2 separate regions of the Homo sapiens genome follow, and region 2 is linked to region 1. Evidence: promoter capture Hi-C in 16 types of primary human blood cells and fetal thymus (Javierre and others, 2016). All regions are on one chromosome and are shown on one strand. Each heading gives the region's core, a stretch centred on a gene start or on the middle of the fragment in contact. The rest is flanking DNA. Distances are from core to core; before and after follow the strand shown.

The links. Contacts are between HindIII fragments. The CHiCAGO score rates a contact against its expected background, and 5 or more counts as called.
Region 2: a fragment that was not itself captured here is called in contact with the fragment with the promoter of DNAJC22 in region 1 in 2 of 17 cell types (M0 macrophages and endothelial precursors); the score reaches 5.9 in M0 macrophages.

The regions. Positions count from the first base shown.
Region 1 is chr12:49,345,444-49,348,287 of GRCh38, reverse strand. DNAJC22 (DnaJ heat shock protein family (Hsp40) member C22) reads right to left here and starts at 1,400. Exons shown (of 4, transcript NM_001304944.2): 1 at 737-1,400; 2 at 183-644. RefSeq lists silencers at 364-583, 2,616-2,735, 2,756-2,844 and an enhancer at 1-701. The HindIII fragment of the contact is 2,270 bases long and covers 1-1,526 here.
Region 2 is chr12:49,626,940-49,629,783 of GRCh38, reverse strand. All of the region lies in intron 1 of PRPF40B (pre-mRNA processing factor 40B), which reads right to left. Among named protein-coding and RNA genes, the nearest start is that of PRPF40B, 4.8 kb to the right of the region's middle. The HindIII fragment of the contact is 1,865 bases long and covers 488-2,352 here.

The DNA.
Region 1 (2,844 bases), core at 151-2,650:
CCTAGACCTTGGCACCCCACAATTCAACCACCTCTTTCGGAGGCCGGCTTGGAAAGCCACTCCACAGCAGCTGGACAAATCCTCACAATATCAAACTGGACGCCAAGCGTGCCTGCCAGTGTCCCCTCTATCTGGAGCGACCACCAGCCAGCACCCGCTACTTCCAAATCAAGTGGCCATACCTGGGTGCCCCGCTCCCAGACCGAGTCAGACCAGTCATTTCCTTTGACCACAGAGTGAAAATGGCCCGTCTCGCCCTGCTCCCACTTCCATCCAAATGGACTTTGTCTTTTGTGTCTGTTGTGTCACGGAAGTCCGGCTTCCCCAGGCCAGGCTCCTCCCCAGGGCCCTCCCCGGCCCCCTGGGGATCACATTCCCGCCTGGGACTCCTCCCGCCCGCCCTCGCGGGGAAACTCGGTGCAAGGCTCTGCAGACGCCTGCAGCTCCGGTGGGCTCAGTGCCCAGCCCGGGCCCAGCTCCTCCCACACCACCGCACCATGGCCGCCAGGTGGCGCTGCCGCCGATGGAAGGGGGGGTCCGGGCGGTCCCCAGACACCTTGTGCGGGTACCGAGGCACAGCAGCACAGGACTGCCCCTATGGAGGGGCTGCCTGGCAGGAGCAAGGGACGCTCCTATCTGTAGTGCTAAAAAAAAGGATAAACTCCTGTAAATGCAAGAATACGTCCTTGATTACCTCCTCCCACCCCCACAAATTGAAAGGTGACTCCTCCCTCACCTCAAGCTGCACGCTCCTCTCTTCACGCTCCGTTGACCTTCAAGACTGGATGGTTCCACCTCCAATTCCCTTAAGGCAGAGACATCCACGGACAGGCTGCAGTGAGGGACATCCAACCCAAGCTGTCCTCAACCCCCCACAGGGCTTGCTTGCCTCACCGGCCCACCTCCGAGCCTTCCAGTTAGGGGCTCTGCTTCTGCACCTGAGCCTGAGACCTGAGGAGCCTCCCAATCCAGGGCTGCTCTGTCCCGCGGGCTATGAACCAGAGGGAGAAACGGGAGCAGAGGGTTGGAGGGCAGGAGGCTCGACCAGGAGGGCGAGGCCGCAGCCCGAGGCTCGTGGTAGTCTGCCTTCCTGCGCCTCTGCGCTGCAACGGAGCTGCAATGCAAGACGCCTTCATTTCAATGTCCCGGGCTCCAATCCCGGGTTCTACTCCGTGAACTTGGCTAAGTCATGCAGCTTCTTGGGCCTCAATTTCCTTCTCTGGCAATCTCGTGGATCTCCGAGGTCCCCCAGTCTGGACTTGCGGGGGCTTCGGGGGACGGTCGGCCTCGCGGGTGTCACCTCCCGGCAGTAGGCAGAGCGCTTCCCTCCAAACGCCCTCAGCCCTCATCTCGGCCTGGAGAGGAAATGCTGCTCTCTATATGACCTCTTAGGGCTCACTGAGGGGCCTAGGCTGGGAGGGGCCCCAAAGCGACGCCTCAGACTGCTGGGGGGCGGGGGCGGACAGGAGCGCTGAATAATGAATGAGACTTAATTGGGCCCGCACTGCGCGACGGCGCGCTAAGCTTTGCAAACAGCGTGGGCGGCGGCGGCCGCCGCTGGACAAACAAACTATCTCCCGGCTCAGGTGGTGGGGCGGGGGCGGCAGCCATACAAGGGAGAGGGAAGGGGCTGGCCGCCGGGGCACCCGGGGCCGCAGCGCGCCCCCAGGTTTACTTCCCGAGGAACCCAGAAATGCGGGGCTGCGCTGGCGGCCCAGAGAGTGGGGGTCGGGAAGGGGCTCAGGGTTCGATCTCAGGAAGGGAGGAGTGGGGAGGGAGAGAAGCGGATTGTGCGGGGAGAGCCAGGGGCCCAAGGGCAATGTAAGCGCGAGGAAAAGCTGAAGAAACGAGTGGAGGGCAGAGGAGAGGGGAGAAGTGAGCGAGGAAAAAGCGCACCGGGGGAGGGGCGACGGGGTCGGGGGAGCGGGAGAAGAGCTGTTACCGGGAGGAAAGGGAAGAGCGATGGAGGAACAAGCGAAGGAAGGCGCAAGGGGCCGGGAGAAGAGGAATTGAAGAGTCAAGGAGAGGGATGGGAGGTGACCGGAATAAGAACGAGGGGGCGGCAGGGCGGGGGGAGGCGCCCCTGCCTCCGCCTCGCCCTGCAGCGCTCCCGGCCTAGCGCTCTCTCCAGCCGCCCGCACTCACTTTGTCACAATTACGGGGCCGTCACTCCGCCCGGATTGTTTTCCCCAAATTGTTGTTCTATAAACTGGTGCAGAGTGGGAGGTGGGGGGATCTGACAAACTGCAGCGAGAGGAAAGGGTCTGAGCTGTGGTGCGGGGCGCGGTGGTGCATTTACCCGCAAACTGGCCCCGCGTGGGCGGAGGAATCCAAAAAACCCACGCAGGAATTCTGGTTGCTGCCCCAGCTTCGTCGCTGACCCCGCTTTTAACTTTTTGGCTATTCTCAGCATCGGCTGCCTCGGTTTCCCCAGCAGAGCGTGACAAGGATCGGAGGCTGGGGTGGTGGAGGCGCTTGTAGGTGGGGTCCAAACCGTCCTGCCTGTCCCATTCTGTCTTGTTCTTTACTACCCGGGTCTCCCCGGCGGGGGATGGGTGGTCTATCCCAGCCCAGCGGTCCTCAGAGCGACCTCGAGTGCCTTCTTCCCCCGTGAGTGAGGCTTCTGCCCTCACCCGGTCTGGGCCATCTCCTACCCCGCCTGTGCCCTCCGACCCTCTGCCCTGCGCCGCTCGGTGTCCCAGCCTTTCAATTCGGCAAACATACGTTGCGCGCCCACTGAGTGCCAGCGCTGAGCCAGCCTCACCCCGCCGCCTCTCCCCCCCGCCACCCGCCCCTTCCCGGCCGGCCCGGCCTGTCGGCTCCGTGACAGCAGCCGCCGAAGCC
Region 2 (2,844 bases), core at 171-2,670, 280 kb before region 1:
TTAAGTATCACTTATTTTAAGACAACTTCCTGACTGTATTTAAAGTAGCTCCTTCCTATTTCTCTATCTGATCCCCTTTTTAGTTTCCTCATGTACATAATTTTGTAATTATTATGTTTGCCTGGATATGTTTTCCCCAACAAGAGTGTAATAACATTCCATGAAGACAGGGATCATATCTGACTTGTTGGAAGCTGTATTCCTGGTACCTACCAGCATCTGGCACATAATAGGTATTCAGCAAATATTGAACGAACGAAGAACAAACAGAACAAATCTCTATATAGAACCTTCTACTTCTAAAAATTAATTTTATAGGTATAGCCCTACATGGCCAAAATGCTGTATGTTTAAGGTTTTCATTTCAGTATTATTTGTAAAAACAGAAGATTGGAATCAGCCTAAATAGCCACCAGTAAGGAGCTATGAAATTATATATACACATAAAATGCAGTGCTATACAGTTATAAACAAGAATGAAGAAGCTTATTGTCTCGATATGATCTCTAAGATGTATTAACAAGTGGGAAAGAAAGCAAGGTGCAGCAAACTTTTATCATTTGTATAAAAGTCAGAGACAAAAGATGATACACAAGAAATGGTAGAAAGGGACAGAGATAAAGGGGAGACTTTTCCCTGTATGGCTTTTGTATCTTTTGAATACGCAGCCATATGACTATATTGCCCATTCAAAAACAAACAAACTCACTGTAAGTGAACCGAGGCTTGGAGATGCAGCTAAAGGGCCCAGCCCTTCTGCCTCTTTGCCTGAAAGTTAGGGGGTGATAGGGAGGAATCCCGGGGAAAGGTGGTATCTGGCTGAAGAGAAGGTACCTCACTGCTGCCAATTTCCCCTATGTTGAGAATGCTCAGCATTTAAAAACGCCCTTCATGTCTGCCTTTAAAATATCTGTTCCTGGCTGGGCACGGTGGCTCACACCTGTAATCCCAGCACTTTGGGAGGCCAAGGAGGGCAGATCATGAGGTCAGGAGATCGAGGCCATCCTGGCCAACACGGTGAAATCCTGTCTCTACTAAAAATACAAAAACAAAATTAGCCAGGCGTGGTGGCAGGCACCTTTAGTCCCAGCTACTCGGGAGAGGTGGGAGAATGAGGTGAACCCAGGAGGCGGAGTTTGCAGTGAGCCGAGGCGCCACTGCACTCCAACTCCAGCCTGGGCGACAGAGCGAGATTTCGTCTCCAAAAAAAAAAAAAAAAAACTGTTCCTGGCCTGGTGCGGTGGTTCACGCCTGTAATCCCAGCACTTTGGGAGGCCAAGCGGGCAGATCACCTGAGGTAAGGAGTTCGAGACCAGCTTGGCCAACATGGTGAAACCTCTACTAAAAATACAAAAATTAGCCAGGTGTGGTGGCACACGCCTGTAGTCTCAGCTACTGGGGAGGCTGAGGCACGAGAACTGCTTGAACCTGGGAGGCGGAGGTTGCATTGAGCTGAGACTGCACCACTGCACTCCAGCCTGGGTGACAGAGTGAGACACTCTCAAAAAGACAAAACAACAACAACAACAACAAACTGTCCTTCATCTTGTCCTAAGAAGAAAAGGGTATGAGCTAAACCTCTCCAATGTGACTCATCTTTTCTAAGTGCTCAACTGCTTTAGTTCTGTATTCAGACTTGCTCTTGCCCCTGACGCTTTCCTCAGCATGGGAAGTCAGAAACTAATCAATAGTGGAGGAAATACAATTTTCTGTGTCACACTTTCCCATCTCAAGCTGCCTCAGGAGCCTCTCTAACATCTTTGGGTCCTACCAGGCTCCAGGGGAGCCTCAGAAGCGTCTCAGAGACTGGCACCACACCATTCAATTGTCCAAATGGAAACCTATGAGTCACTCTCCACAACTCCCTCTTCCTTGCCAATAAATCACCAAGTCTTGTTAACTTTACCTCCTCAAGATTTCTTGAATCTATCCATTTCTCTCCATTTCCTTTTCCACCACCCATCTTGCCCAAGCCACCATCTTTTTTCATCTAATTGCAGTGGCCTCCCAACTGTTTTCCCCACATCCACTCCAATCAGCAGCTATAACAAGCTCTTCAAAGTGCACCTCAGACTGTTAGCCCCCTGCTTAAAACTCTTCAATGGCTTCCCACTGCTCTTAGGGTAAATAGTAAACCCCCTACCCAGTACTATGAGGGGGTCTGCTACCCAGCTACCTTGCCAATCTCCCCCATGCTGAGCTCCTGGGTCTCAGTTCCAGCCCTACTCACCTTCTCTCAGCTCTCCCACCTCAGGCATCCACCTTTGCCTGAGAAAACTGGGTTGGCCCTGCCAACCCCACACACCTTGCCTACTACACTTCACATCTACCAATCATTTCTTCACGAAAGCTTTTCCCAACTCCCTGAACTAGTCAGAGCCCGCTTTTATATACTTGTACAACACCATGTACCTTCTCCTTCGGCAATTATCCATTAGAATTTTATAGTTATTTGTATAATCCTGATTATATTATTTTTCTATTTGGCATGAATAAAAAACAAATGCTGCCAATTAAATTATAATATCCTGTCAATTTGAAGATGCATCCTGACTTGACAAATGTTCAAATATGAGTCTCAGAATTAATGAAATATAATATCCGTGGCCCCTACTAGACTGAAAACACTGAAGGGCAGGGACTTCATCTGTTTTTGCTCACCTCATATCCAGTTCCCATTGTGTTTTCCTTACCACCATCTATGGGTACAAACTAGGTGCTAATAAGTATGTGTTAACTGAATGACTAAATGGTCTTGGCAAGTCCTACAAAACAGTAGGGGGCCACTGGTAAGTTAGGTCTAGTAGTTATTCAGGGAACATAGAATGTCAGAACTGGAGGAGA